Linked DNA regions of Homo sapiens: region 1 is linked to region 2. Evidence: promoter capture Hi-C in human tissues and cell types (Jung and others, 2019). All regions are on one chromosome and are shown on one strand. The core of a region is centred on a gene start or on the middle of the fragment in contact, and the rest is flanking DNA. Distances in the headings are between cores, read along the strand shown. Region 1 overlaps TTLL7 (tubulin tyrosine ligase like 7). Region 2 holds the start of GNG5 (G protein subunit gamma 5).

Region 1 (7,721 bases), core at 2,459-4,958, 520 kb before region 2:
TAGAAAAAAACTATTTGAAAATTCATATAGAACCAAAAAAGAGCCCTGATAGCCCAAACAATCCTAAGCAAAAAGGACAAAGCTGGAGGCATCACATTACCAGACTTCAAACTGTACAAGGCTGCAGTAAACAAAATAGCATGGTAATGGTAGAAAAACAAATACAAAGACCAATGGAACAGAACAGAGAACACAGAAATAAAGCCGCATAGCGACACCTCTCTGATCTTTGACAAAGTCGACAAAAATAAGCAATAAGGGGCCAGGCAATAAGGGCTCACACCTGTAATCCCAGCAGTTTGGGAGGCAAAAGCAGGTGGAGCAGTTGAGGTCAGGAGTTCGAGACTAGTCTGGGCAACATGGTGAAACCCCATCTCTACTAAAAATACAAAACGTAACTGGGCATGGTGGCGCACACTGTAGTCCCAGCTACTCGAGAGGCTGAGGCATGAGAATCCCTTGAACCCAGGAGGCGGAGGCTGCAGTGAGCCGAGATCACGCCACTGCACTCCAGACTGGTGACAGAACGAGACTCTGTCTCAAAAACAAATAAATAAATAAATAAGCAATAAGAAAAAGACTGTCTATTCAATAAATGACACTGGAATAACTGGCTAGCCACATGCAGAAGCAAGAAACTGGACAAACTACCTCTCACCACAAGCAAAAATTAACTCAAGATGGATTAAAGATTTAAATGTAACCCCTCAAACTATAAAAATCCTAGAAGAAAACCTAGGAAATACCCTTCCTAGCAAACACTGGCTTTGACAAAGAGTTTATGGCTAAGTGCCCAAATGCAACTGCAACAATAACAAAAATTGACAAGTGGGATCTCATCAAACTAAAGAGCTTTTGTACAGCAAAAGAAACTATCAACAGAGTAAACAGACAACCTACAGAATGGGAGAAAATATTTGCAAACCATGTATCTGACAAAGCTATAATATCCAGAATCTGAAAGGAACTTAAATAGCTGAAAAATCAAAAAACAAATAATTTTGTTAAAAAATGGGCAAAAGGCTGAGTGCAGTGGCTCACACCTGTGATCTTGCAATTTGGAAGGCCGACGCAGGAAGAGAGCTGGAGCCCAGAGTTTGAGACCGGCCAGGGCAATATAATGAGACTTCATCTCTACAAACTATAAACAAAATTAGCTGAGTATGGTGGTGTGCACCTTTAGTCCTAGCTACTCAGGAGGCTGAGATAGAAGGACTGCTTCAGCCCAGGAGGTCAAGGCTACAGTGAGCCAAGATTGTGCCACTACACTCCACCCTGGGTGACAGAGTGAGACCCTGTTTCAAAAAAAAAATGGGCAAAAGACATGAACAGACACTTCTCAAAAGAAGATGGACAAGTGGCCAACAAACATGAAAAAATGCTCAACATCACTAATCATCAGAGAAATGCAAATCAAAACCACAATGAGATACCATCTCGCATCAGTCAGAATGGCAACTAACAAAAAGTCAAAAACCAACAGATGCCAGCAAGGCTGCAGAGAAAAGAGAACACTTATACACTGCTGGTGGGAATGTGAATTAGTTCAGTCACTGTGGAAGGCAGTTTGGAGATTTCTCAAAATAACTTAAAACAGAACTACCATTCATCCCAGCAATCCCATTACTGGATATATATCCAAAAGAAAATAAGTTGTTCTACCAAAAAGATACATGCACTTGTATAATATGTTCACTGCAGCACTATTCACAATAGCAAAGACATGAAATCAACCGAGGTGCCCATCAACAGTGGACTGGATAAATACAATGTGGTACATATACACATGGAATGCTATGCAGCCATAAAAAGAATGAGATTATATCTTTTGCAGCAACATGGATGCAGCTGGAGGCCATTATCCTAAGCAAATTAACACAGGAACAGGAAACCAAATACTGCATGTTCTCACTTATAAGTGGCAGCTAAACATGGGGTACTCACAGACATAAAGATGGCAACAGTAGACTCTGGGGACTACTAGAGAGGGGAGAGAGGGAGGGGGACGTGGGCTGAAAAACTACTGATTGGGTACTATGCTCACTAAATGGGTTATGGGACTATCCATATTCCAAACCTCAGCATCATGCAATATACCCAGGTAACAAAACTGCATATGTACCCCTTGTATCCAAAATAAAATAAAATAAAATAAAGTCTTCTAAAAGAATGTATAAAATTGATAAACATCTAGCAAAACTGACAAGGATTTTGTATTAGTCATGGTTCTCCAGAGGAACAGAACTAGTAGGATATATGACTACATATATAAGGGAGTTTATTAGGGAGAATTGGCTCACAGGATTACAAGACAAAGTCCCACAATAGGCCGCCTGTAAGCTGGGGAAGACAGAAGCTGGTAGTGGCTCAGTCTGAGTCCGAAAGCTTCAAACCAGGGAAGCCGACAGTATAGCCTTCAGTCTGTGGCCAGAGGCCCAAAAACCCCTGGCAATTCCCTGGTGCAAGTCCCAGAGTCCAAAGGCCAAAGAACCTGCAGTTTGAGGTCCAAAGGGCAGGAGAAGCAGAAGGAAGCATCCAAGGCTGGAGAAAGAAGGCAGCCAGAAGGCTCAGCAAGCAAAGCTTATCCCACCTTCTTCTGGCTGCTTTGTTCTAGCCACACTGGCACAATGAGGGTGGGTCTTCCTCTACCAGTCCACTGACTCAAATGTCAATCTCCTCTGGCAGTACCCTCACAGACACCCCTAGAAATAATACTTTACCAGCTATCTAGGCATCCTTCAATCCAACCAAGTTGACACCTAATATTAACCATCACAGATTTTTTAAAAGATAAGACTCAAGTCACCAACATCAAAAATGAAACAAAGACGGGGGACGATTGCTTGAGCCCAGGAGTTCGAGACCAACCTGGGCAACATAGCAAGGCCTGTCTCTTAAAAATAAATAAATAAATAAATAAACAAAAATTTTAAAAAACCTATCTCAACAGAATCTAAAGACAATAAAAGGATAATAAGGGAAAATTATGAATAACTTTACTGTTATGAATTCAACAACTTAGCAAAACTAATCAATTTCTTAAAAAAACACAAACTGCCCAATCTCAGGCAAGATAAAACAGATCACCTAAATAGTTCTATAACTACTAAAGAAATAATTCTGATTTTGTCATTAAATATCCTGAAAAAGAAATGTCCAGACCAAGGTGGTTTTATTATGGGATTTTGCCAAACACTCAATGAAGAATTAACACCATTTTTAAACAAACTCTTTCAGAAAATAGAAGAAGAAACACTTTCCAACTCATTTTATGAGATCAATAGTACTCTGACAACCAAAACCAAAGAAGCACCAGAAAAAGAAACTACAGACCAATATATTTCATTCACTTAGATGCAAAAATCCTTAAAATTTTGCAAACTGAATCTAACAATATTTGTGGATATATTGTGTGTGTACCTAATGTGTGTATATGTATAATGTGTGTGTATGTATAATATATGTATAAGTATGTGCTGTCATGACAAAGTGAGATTTATTTCATGTATGCAAGGCTGATTCAATATTCAAAAATAAATCAATGTAACCTACCATATCAATAAGCTAAGAAAGAAAAATCATACATCCATATCAATTGATACTAAAAAAAGTATTTGATGTAATCCAACATTCATTCAGGATAAAATGTCTCAGCATACTAAGGACAGAGAGAAACTTTCTTGACCCCGTAAAGAGCAGGTACAAAAAACCTACATAATTAGCATTACATTTAATAGTGAAAGACTGATTTCCTTCTATGATTAAGAAGAAGGCAGCCAGGCATGGTGGCTCACGCCTGTAATCCCAGCTCTTTGGGAGGCCGAGGCCGGTGTATCACCTGAGGTCAGGAGTTCGAGACCAGCCTGACCAATAATTGTGAAATCCCCTACTAAAAACACAAAATTGGCCAGGAGTGGTGGCATGCACCTGTGTCCCAGCTACTCAAGAGGCTGAGACAGCAGAATTGCTTGAATCCGGGAGGCAGAGGTTGCAGGGAGCCAAGATCGTGCCACTGCACACTATCCTGGGCAACAAAGCAAGACTCCATCTCAAAAAAAAAGAAGAAGAAGAAGAAGGCAAGGATGTCCACTCTCACCACTTTTATTGAACATAGTACAGGAAGTTCCAGCCATTGCAATAAAGCAAGAAAAATGAAGACATATGGATTGGAAAGAAATAAAACTGTCTCTATTTTCTGATGACATGATTGTCTACATTTAAAAAAAACCCTCAAAGTGAAGAACACAAGATCAACACACAAAAATCAATTGCATTTCTATATCTTGACAATGAAGAAATGGAAATGAAAATTTAAAACATAGGTATAATTTTCCAAAGAAAATTTAAAACACAGGTATAATTTTCCAAAGAAAATTTAAAATATAGGTATAAATCTAAGATAACATGTGCAAGATTTACATAATTAAAATTATAATTTGTGCAGGAAGGTTTACATGGAAAAAAAAAAGAAAAAACAAAAAAAAATTAAAAAAATATAAAATCCTGATGAAAGAAATCAATGAAGACTTAAACACCTGGGGACATGCCATGTCCATGGATTGAAAGAAGCAACGCAGTGATGATGGCAATTCTCCCTAAATCAACGTATAGGTTTAACACAATTTCAATTAACATTTGGTTAAGTTACAACAACAAAATTCTACATTAGATAGATTTTTTTAAAGTGGCTCTTCCACAGAGACAAATTCCATTGAAATTAATTTCAATTTGTAAAATAATTATGGCATGTATCATCATTACATAGTCTCAAGAATACTACTGTGGACTTTAAATAAGGAGGAAAGGAATTAGTAAACAGCAATTTGAAACAATTCTAACGATTTTTTTTAAAACTGCTAATAACAACAAATGCTACACAAGCAACAAAAGCAAAAATAAACAAATGGGTCTAAATCAACTTTAAACTTTTTGTGCACCAAGGGACACAATCAACAGAGTGAAAAGGCAATGTACAAAATGAGAAAATGTTTGCAAAACATATTATCTGACAAGGAGTTGATACCTAGAATATATAAAGAACTACAACTCAACAAGAAAAAATCAAATAACCCTATTTGTTTATTTATTCTATAATTTCAACTTTTATTTTAGATTCAGGGGGTACATGTACAGGTTTGTCACCTGAGTATATTGCATGATGCTGAGGTTTGGGGTATAATTGATTCCATCACACAGGTAGTGAGCATAGTACCCAATTGGTAGTTTTTCAGCCCACATTCTTCACCCTCCTACCTCCATATAGTAATCCCCAGAGTCTATTGTTGTCATCTTTACGTCCATGAGTACCCAATGTTTAGCTGCCACTTATAAGTGAGAACATGCAGTATTTGGTTACCTGTTCCTGCGTTAATTTGCTTAAGATAATGGCCTCCAGCTGCATCCATGTTGCTGCAAAAGATATCTCATTCTTTTTATGGCTGCGTAGCATTCTATGGTGTATATGTACCACATTTTATTTATCCAATCCACCGCTGATGGCACCTCGGTTGATTTCATGTCTTTGCTATTGTGAATAGTGCTGCAATGAACATATTATACAAGTACATGTATCTTTTTGGTAGAACAACTTATTTTCTTTTGGATATATATCCAGTAATGGGATTGCTGGGTCGAATAGTAGTTCTGTTTTAAGTTATTTGAGAAATCTCTGAACTGCTTTCCACAGTGACTGAACTAATTTACATTCTCACCAGTAGTGTATAAGCGTTCTCTTTTCTCTGCAGCCTTGCTGGCATCTGTTGGTTTTTGACTTTTCGTTAGTTGCCATTCTGACTGATGCGAGATGGTATCTCATTGTGGTTTTGATTTGCATGTCTCTGGTGATTAGTGATGTTGAGCACTTTGTCATATTTGTTAGCCAGTTGTCCATCTTCTTTTGAGAAGTGTCTGTTCGTGTCTTTGGCCACCTTTTTTTTTTTAAGATGGAGTCTCGCCCTGTCTCCAAGCTGGGGTGCGGTGGCACGATCTCAGCTCACTGCAGTCTCCGTCTCCCGGATTCAAGCTATTCTCCTGCCTCAGCCTCCCAAGTAGCTGGAACTAGAGGCGTGCACCCACCACGCCCAGCTAATTTTTGTATTTTTAGTAGAGACGGGGTTTCACCATGTTGGCCAGGATGGTCTCAGTCTCCTGACTTTGTGATCCGCCCTCCTCGGCCCTCCAAAGTGCTGGGATTACAGGCATGAGCCACCACGCCTGGCCTTTTGCCCACCTTTTAATGGTGTTGTTTTTTGTTTGTTCAACTGTTTAAGTTCTTTAGATTCTGGATATTAGACCTTTGTCACATACATAGTTTGCAGGCATTTTCTCCCATTCTGTAGGTTGTCTGTCTACTCTGCTGTTAGTTTATTTTGCCGTACAGAAGCTCTTTACTTTGGCTAGGTCCCACCTATAAATTTTTTTGCTGCAATTGCTTTTGGGGACTTAGCCATAAATCCTTCATCAAGGCAATGTTGGGAAGGGTATTTCCTAGGTTTTCTTATAGGATTTTTATAGTTTGAGGACTTATATTTAAATCTTTAAAACAGCTAGTTTTTCTACACGGTGAGGGGTAGGTGTCCAGTTTCATTTTTCTGCATATGGCTAGCCAGTTATCCCAGTATCTTTTATTGAACAGGGAAACAGGAAGTCTTTTCCATATTAGTTTTGTCAACTTTGTTAACCATGTGGCTTTATTTCTGGATTCTCTATTCTATTTCCCTGGTCTATGTGTCTGTTTTTGTACCAGTACTATGGCTATTTTGTTTACTACAGCCTTACAGTATATAGTTTGAAGTCAGGTATTGTGATGCCTCCAGCTTTGTTCTTTTTGCTTAGGATTGCTTTAGCTATGCAGGGTCTTTTTTGGTTCCCTATGAATTTTCAAATAGTTTTTGTTTTGTTTTGTTTTTTTAGTTCTGTGAAAAATGACTTTGGTAGCTTGATAAGTATAGCACTGAATCTGTAGACTGCTTTGGGCAGTATGGCCATTTTAACAATATTGATTAATCCAATCCATGAGCATGGAATGTTTTTTTCGTACTCTCTGATTTCTTTCAGCAGTGTCTTGTAGCTGTCCTTGCAGAGATCTTTCACCTCCTTGATTAGATGTATTCTTAGGCTTTGGTTGTTGTTGTTATTATTGATGTTGGGGATTTTTTTTTGTGGCTACTGTAAGTGGGATTGCATTCTTGATTTGGCTCTTAGCTTGAATGCTATTGGTGTATAGAAATGTTACTGGTTTTTGTGCATTGGTCTTTTATCCTGAAACTGTATAACAGCTGTTTATAAGTTCCAGGGGCTTTTTGGCAGAGTCTTTAGGGTTTTCTAGGTATTGGATCGTATCAATAAGGAGAGATGATTTGACTTCTTATTTGGATGCCTTTTTTTTTTTTTTTTTTTGAGACGGAGTCTCGCTCTGTCGCCCAGGCCGGACTGCGGACTGCAGTGGCGCAATCTCGGCTCACTGCAAGCTCCGCTTCCTGGGTTCACGCCATTCTCCTGCCTCAGCCTCCTGAGTAGCTGGGACTACAGGCGCCCGCCACTGCGCCCGGCTAATTTTTTGTATTTTTAGTAGAGATGGGGTTTCACCTTGTTAGCCAGGATGGTCTCGATCTCCTGACCTCATGATCCACCCGCCTCGGCCTCCCAAAGTGCTGGGATTACAGGCGTGAGCCACCGCGCCCGGCCTGGATGCCTTTTATTTCTTTCTCTTGCCTGATTGC
Region 2 (7,099 bases), core at 4,483-6,982:
TTCCTGGACTTTGGAGAAGTCAGAAAGTTAGTAAGGGGTGTGTGCCATATACAAAATCTTTTTTAAAAAAGTACTATTAGTTTAAGTTTGCTTCTCATAGGTCAATACTAATGAGTACATTCCCTAACTAAAGTACTAAGAATTTATAAAAGGCAGCACCCTTCAGTTACATTTTAAATGATCCAAAACGTTTTTGGTCACATCTCTTAGATTAACATACATTTTGTACACATGACATTTGATCTGGAAGGCACAAATTAATGTACTGAAGCATGCTTTAATAAAGCCAACAGGGTCTTTAGTTTTTAATTCTCTGAAATTCAGTCCACTGTCTGTTTGCCACCAAGAACTTATATACTGCATTTCCTTCATGTTTTATCTTTAATCTAACAAATGAGAACAAAATATAAAGTCTGTTCTACCTCAGTCCAAACGCCTCTACCACACTGGCTTACTCAATTACATCTGACTTTCTCTTGCATTTCCAATTCCCAATCTTTGCTATACTGCTCTACAGCTGGGTTCAGTTAGAGCAATAACATCAAGAGTTAATCCAAATCAGTTGGTAGTACTTTAAGTTATCCCCATAAACATTGCAGATTTTTTAAAAACTGTCTAAATATTTGCCAGGTACACAAAAACAAAACTAGTACTTGGGGACTCCATTAGGCCAATGCTCTAAAAAGTAACACATGGCTTGTTACGGCAGTGGGATTTTGTAGTAACTCTCCTATACCCTCTTTATGGTTATTAAATCCTCTACTTAACCTTCTTTATGGTAAAATAGAAACGATTAGCCTTCATGGCTACTAAGTCAGCAAGTTTCATGAATCCTCACTTTCCTTGCAAAACAGAAAAATACTGGAAATGGAGGGCCAAAGGAAAGGGCATGGGATGATCTTTTAAGTGCTGCAAAGAAAGAGAAGACTAGTTATTCCTACAGTGTGGGTTTTTGTTTTAAATTTAAGGAAACTTACCTTTGAAAGATTCATTTTACTACAAAAAGGAACAGACTTTCTGGGGTCTGAAGGGATTTGTACTTGAAGATACTCCAGTCAGCAGAGGGTCATGTTGAGCATTCTGCAGACAGAACTGTTTCAAGTCTGCAGCTGCCTGGGAAACCTATACATAACAAAGAGGGGGGGAAGTGCCAGATGGTGAGAACATTTTAATGAAGGTTTTCTCAATCTTTGGAAATATTGTACTTACAATAAAACAGTACTTCTCTTGCTTCAAAAGAAGATACTATATAATAATTGAAGACTTAAGTCAAATAGTGAGCTCTTTTTTTTTTTTTTTTTTTTTTTGAGACGGAGTCTCACTCTGTTGCCAGGCTGGAGTACAGTGGTGCGATCTCGGCTCACTGCAACCTCCGCCTCGGTTCAAGCGATTCTCCTGCCTCAGCCTCCTGAGTAGCTGGGACTACAGGCGCACGTCACCACGCCCAGCTAGTTTTTCTATTTTTAGTAGAGACGGGGTTTCACCGTGTTGGCCAGGATGGTCTCTCTCTCTTGACCTCGTGATCCGCCCACCTCGGCCTCCCAAAGTGCTGAGATTACAGGTGTGAGCCACCACGCCCAGCCTAGTGAGCTCTTAATACTTAAAACTAGTGCTTGCAAATAAGACTGATTTAATTAAGTATGTTTTCTTTTGCTTGGTTACTAGAAGCATCAGATGACTGAGTACAAACAGTAGAATTATGTTGATTTTTGCAAAGCGTAGCACATCTTGCTTATTAATAATAGGCTGTTCAAGTGCAAACCTGAGGGTACTTAACATCTTATTAAAAACATTAAGGGTTAAACAAAAAGCAATAACATTCTAGCAAACTATTACTTTGTCTTGAAAGCAGTATTACTGGAAAAATGCTACTGTGAATGAACATAATGTGGGATAACTAGCACATAATTTAGAAAAGCCAACACTAAGAATGCATTCAGTATACTGATCCTCAAATTTATCAGACCCTTATACTGTCTTGCATTTAAACTAAAACAAATTAAAAGAGGCATGCATTCATTCACTTAGACATCTACTATTTCTATATATTCTGCTAAGGTGATGTAGGATATAAACAAAATAACCATAAAGCCATTGAAGTTCCTTAAGTCCTGTTTGGGTGGCTCTGTATATGTATATTAACACTTAAATCATATTTAAGGCAATAGTTTCTTAAAGGCAGGCTGCTCAGAAAAACTGTTAAATTGAAGTTTGCTAGCAGCCTTTCAGTCACGTGACACTGGGCAGAAATCTGTCACTGTCTAGTTTAATAACATTAACGGACCCGTTCAGACGTGGAACATGAATGACTAAAACATGCCCCAAATGCATCTAATATCTGAAGTCTTGAACTGAGATTTAAAAAGTGGGAGAAATACTCATTTATTTTATTCTCAGTCTTTATCCGCAAGGAGGCTGGGAGCAGGTGTCCAGTCCATCCAGCTGGATATGTGGCCTCAGGGAATTAATAGCATCACAAATGCTCTCTATACCAAGAACCCCTGCAGATTACAGCTGTACCTCCAACCTAATAATTCTTCATCCTAAGATGAATCTAAACGCTTATCGAATCTATTTGTGTGTTTTGCTTATACAGCAGTCCAGAGTAATGAGTTCCATAGGTTTATTAGCTCCTATGTAAAAGAAGTATTTTTACAAATGACTACACCCCCTCATCCCCCGCCTTCCAAAAGAAGTGTAGCTAAAGTAGGGGAACAATGGTGTCATTTTTCACCAAATATTGTAATAGTGTTTAGTGTTTTCATTCATATTAACCAGCAGGAAGCATAAAGAGTACCTGTTAATTTTCTGTTTAAAGTGTAGGTGGGGTCCAATGTAACTCGCTTTCACAATTTTCAAGCACCACTATGTGCCGCATATACTTACAGGCACTAAGAATACATAAGAACAGCCAGAGCCCTGTTGTTATGGAGCTAACAGTTCAGAGAAAATGACAGACAAGGTGCTCTGTAGTAAAATGAATAATCTTTTAGATGGTGACTGGGTGCCCACCTAAGGGAAGGTGTCTGAGGTGACATTGAAGCTGAGATCTCAATGACAAGAGATCCAGCCAAATAACCATCAGTGAGAAACAGCATTCCAAACAGTGAGGAAAGCTGAGACAAAGACTCTAAAACTGGAACAAGCTGCTAGCCCCTAAGGCACTGTAACAATCACCATCCAGGAGGTTGAAACCCTGTAATCCTGGCCTATTAGTGCCCCTTCTCACTCTCAAAAATGTCCTGACCTACCTATGACAGTTTGTCAAGCACTTATGGTAAGTTCTATCAATTGTACTCACACATAAAGGTTAAAAGTAAGATTGTGCTAGTTTAAAAATCTCACAAAAAAATCACCTAGCCCAGTCATTGATAAAACAGATACACAACGTTAAACCACATTTAGCAACATGTCTAAAGAAAAGCTCATTAAAAAGTACAAAAGGGGATGCTCCCCTTCTTGCTACAGCCTTAACATCAGGCAATAACTCCAAAACCAAATCATGTCTGGTGCCTTTAATGATCCCGACCAGAACCAGAAGTCTACTGAAGATTTAGGTAGGATCAGTTTTGGGGAATTAGGGGAGCAGCAGCTAGGGTTTTCAAAGTAAAGCTCTTGGAGTATTTTAGCCTGAGAACCTCATGTCATTTTCTTTGGAGACTAAAGATGTACAATTTATTGCTTTCACTATCCCACCCCCATTTTTTTTTCTTGGTCCATCCTATCTATGATAAAGGCACACCTGAATGACATTTAATGGTTACGAAATAAATGATTTCGAGTTTCAGAGCCAAATCCAGCCAAGACTGACTAGAAACCACTGTGATGAGGTAAGAATTGGGAGAGTAGAGAAATGGATTCCAAACTGCAGTGAGGTCTACAGCATTTCAAGGACTGGACGTGAGGGGGATCCCACACCAAGACGAATGAGAATTCCCTTCCCTTCTGAGTTGACCACAACTGAGTAAGCTAGGTCCCTGACATTTCTAGTTAACAAAACTAAATGGGAGACTCTCTCTCAGGAGGATCCTGCACCAAGACGAATGAGAATTTCCCTTCCCTTCTGAGGTGACCACAACTGAGTAAGCTAGGTCTCTGACACTTCTAGTTAAGAAAGCTTAGAGACCCTCTCAGTTCACAAAACATTTCGGCAAGTAATAAAGACTAGCCTGATGAGTATAAAATCAAATCATCTTAGGAACTGGCTGCTTTTAACAGGGCACATGATTTACATTCTTGTTTCTTTTTTTAACTGCAGAAGTGTTTCACATGTAGCCTGACCTATTGTACCAGAAAGAAGCCAATCCATTTAGGACTGTAAAAATCAGGAAATACTTAGAACAGCACTTGAATGTCAAGTTATTCTATCAACACAGACAAAAGGCTTTTTCTCCCAAAGTACCCCAAGACAAGGCCAATACTAACCAGACGCCAAAATAAGACCAATAATTACCCACAATAATCATTTTCTCCGGCATGCGGACCAGTCGATATCCCCAAGGTCAAATATGAGCAAACTGTGCCATAGGTATGAAATGCACGCTTTGTTCGAGGTTGTACGGGGCACTGACCGGAACTTTACACTCCAGGATCGTTTCGAAAAATGCTTATTCAATCCACAGTTTAAGTTATGCAATAATTCGCTTAAAAGTATGTGTTCAACGGACAAGAGAAGTTGAAGGTAAGAATTTAATACTAAAGGAAGTAGGTTTGGGAAAGATCAAATGGGAGAAAAGTCTGCTCTGAATCAAAAGTCGGAAAATACCCTGTCCGATGAGAAACAGGAGGCTGGCAAAGTGGGAAAGGAAGGGTGCGGACAGCGCGCGGAGGCGCAGCTGTTGGTGAGACCAGCCGAGAAGGCTGCCAAGGGAGGTAGAGACGGAGGAGGACCGGAATGTCGGCCACGGTTCAACCCAGGGGCCAGCCCGCCTCGGAAAGTCCTGGGGCGGAAGGGCGAACTAATCGTCCCCCTAAAACACAGCGTAGACCCACGCGGCGCCTGCTCTAAAGCTGGCCGCTCCCCGATCGCCGCCGCTGAGCGCGCGTCCTCTCCAGGGGAAGCGAGGGCCGGCGCGTGTCCCGCCCGCCCCCGCCAGCTGGGCCGCCGGATCCCACCCGCCGCCGCCGCCTTCCTCCCGCCTCGGCCGCCCGCCCCCGCTCACTTTTACGCGGTTGAGTCCGGCCTCCAGCCGGAGCTGTTGAACCACTTTCTTCATAGCGGCGACGCTGGAGGAGCCAGACATGGTGCACGCGACGGCCGGGCCGATTCGTGGGTCGGTGGGTCGTGGGCCGTGGGTCGGCGGGGCCAGACAACTCAGCGGCGCGCGGCGGGGGCGGGGCTCCGAACTTTGTCTCTAAGTTTCCGGTTCTGTGCTCAGCGGCTCCACCCTCGGTGCGCATGCGCGCCTTGCCAGCCCTCTGTTCCAGCTCCACACCCGGCCCCGAGCGCGAGCCTGGAGGAGGGGGAGGAGAAGGGGCGGAGCAGTCGGTGGGCGCGGCGGCTGCTGGAGGCTAGCGCGACCCGACTCTTAAGTTTTCTTTTCCTCTCCAGAGGGGCCGATTAGGGAGAGGTAAGGAGAGAGCTTACCGTTAGCCGCGAAGAACTAAGAGGGGGTCTGAAGAGGACCAGGGAGGGAAGGCAGAGCTTGTGGGAGTTTCTAAAAGGCCCGGCGGCGGGTGACCAGGAGGTCTCAGTTTTCCTCCCAGTTTGTGGGAAGGGTTGAGGGAAGTGAGGGGAGATACTGGGTGAGGCGTAGGAGCTACTGTGCACCCGGCGTGAGTCACCCGCACACCCCCGCCCCGTACAGGCGTGTCTCTCTGTGACCCGAGTTTGGCCAACAGGCATTTTCAGTTCCACCCCCAACCCCCAGCCCCGCTGACCCGAGGCGGAGAGCAGGCGCGGAGGTCGCTGTCGCGTACCCAGCGGAGCCGGGCGGGCGGGGAGCAGGGGCGCTGATTCGCTGGAGAAGGGATCTTCTCGAGGTTTGACTTTACTGGCTTCTTAGCTCTTGAATCGGTTTTTCTGAAGGAGATTGTGAAGAAGCCAAGGTGCTGGCTGAAGATTACACCTGTCTGCTCGGTTACCCATTTACTCTGGAGAATTAATGCTTATTGTACTTTTTAAAATAAAACTTATTTTTGTGTTTCCGGAAAGTTTGCTCTTTAGTATTTCCGTTGTAATTTATTACCTCCTGCTTGAAATTGAGTACCAAAGGAGTTTTTAGGAGAGAGGGTAGGGTCTAACCAAACAAAATAGGCTCAGCCAGTAGGTCTTTCTTTCATCCACGGAAATATGTGTGTTATGTCACAGCACTAAGGGCAGATGTTTCCTATTTCTTTTCGGGTAGTCAATCTCCGAATGCGCTGATGTTTTCCATTAATGTTAATAATTTTATCATTAATGGATTTCAAATTTTTTATTAGGGAAGCATGTGTAATTGCACTGGTCAACAAAATCTAATTTATTTACTCAACAGTTTATATCAGTTCGCAAAAATGTACATCGTAAGTTTAGCATTTTACTTAATTCATACGGATGTAATGATTGGGGTTAAAACCAGGGTTTGAATTCTGGCTCTGCTACTTACGGTATTCTTGGGCAAGCCACTTAAGTTACTGAGGCTTTATTTCCTTATTTCAAAGTAAATTATACAGCTTCGTAGAGTTGTTTTTCGGAATGAAATGACATTATATGTAAAAAGAATGTGAAAGCTATCTCAATAAATATTGTCTTTTCCCAAAAGGTATTGTAATTATTTCACCTTTGGTGCTTTGTTGACTGTATAATGCTAAAACGTCATTCATACTTTACAGATTTGTAAGATTAAACACAAGTATCTATTCAAAGAATGATCTGTTTTACAGTAGTTGTAAAATATATCACTGAACTCTTAGAACCGTGGTATGTTAATGCTGGAAGAGATTTTAGGGAATATATGGTCCAATAATTACTTCTGTGAGGGAGACTGTTGAGGAATAAGCAGTGTTTTAGGCCGAAACAGTTTCAGAAAAAAAAAAAATTGTTGCTTTTTTATTAACTGCTGCATTGGGAAACCACAGACTGGAGTGCTGTCTCAAACACCAGGTGTTATTTTTTTGT

What was found. Contacts are between HindIII fragments. The study calls those that stand out against the background at their distance.
Region 1: a contact is called between a fragment that was not itself captured here and the fragment with the promoter of GNG5 in region 2, in 1 of the 25 tissues and cell types used here (hippocampus).

The regions. Positions count from the first base shown.
Region 1 is chr1:83,982,789-83,990,509 of GRCh38, forward strand. The region is part of intron 1 of TTLL7 (tubulin tyrosine ligase like 7); the gene reads right to left. TTLL7-IT1 (TTLL7 intronic transcript 1) reads right to left here and starts at 1,512. Exons shown (of 2, transcript NR_046841.1): 1 at 1,044-1,512. The HindIII fragment of the contact is 6,292 bases long and covers 563-6,854 here.
Region 2 is chr1:84,500,849-84,507,947 of GRCh38, forward strand. GNG5 (G protein subunit gamma 5) reads right to left here and starts at 5,733. Exons shown (of 4, transcript NM_005274.3): 1 at 5,588-5,733; 2 at 5,163-5,453; 3 at 978-1,122. The coding sequence starts at 5,243. The coding sequence ends at 997. It overlaps SPATA1 (spermatogenesis associated 1), which reads left to right and starts at 5,538. Exons shown (of 14, transcript NM_001397487.1): 1 at 5,538-5,570. RefSeq lists an enhancer at 2,834-3,339 and silencers at 4,999-5,128, 5,379-5,458. The HindIII fragment of the contact is 15,510 bases long and covers 2,035-7,099 here.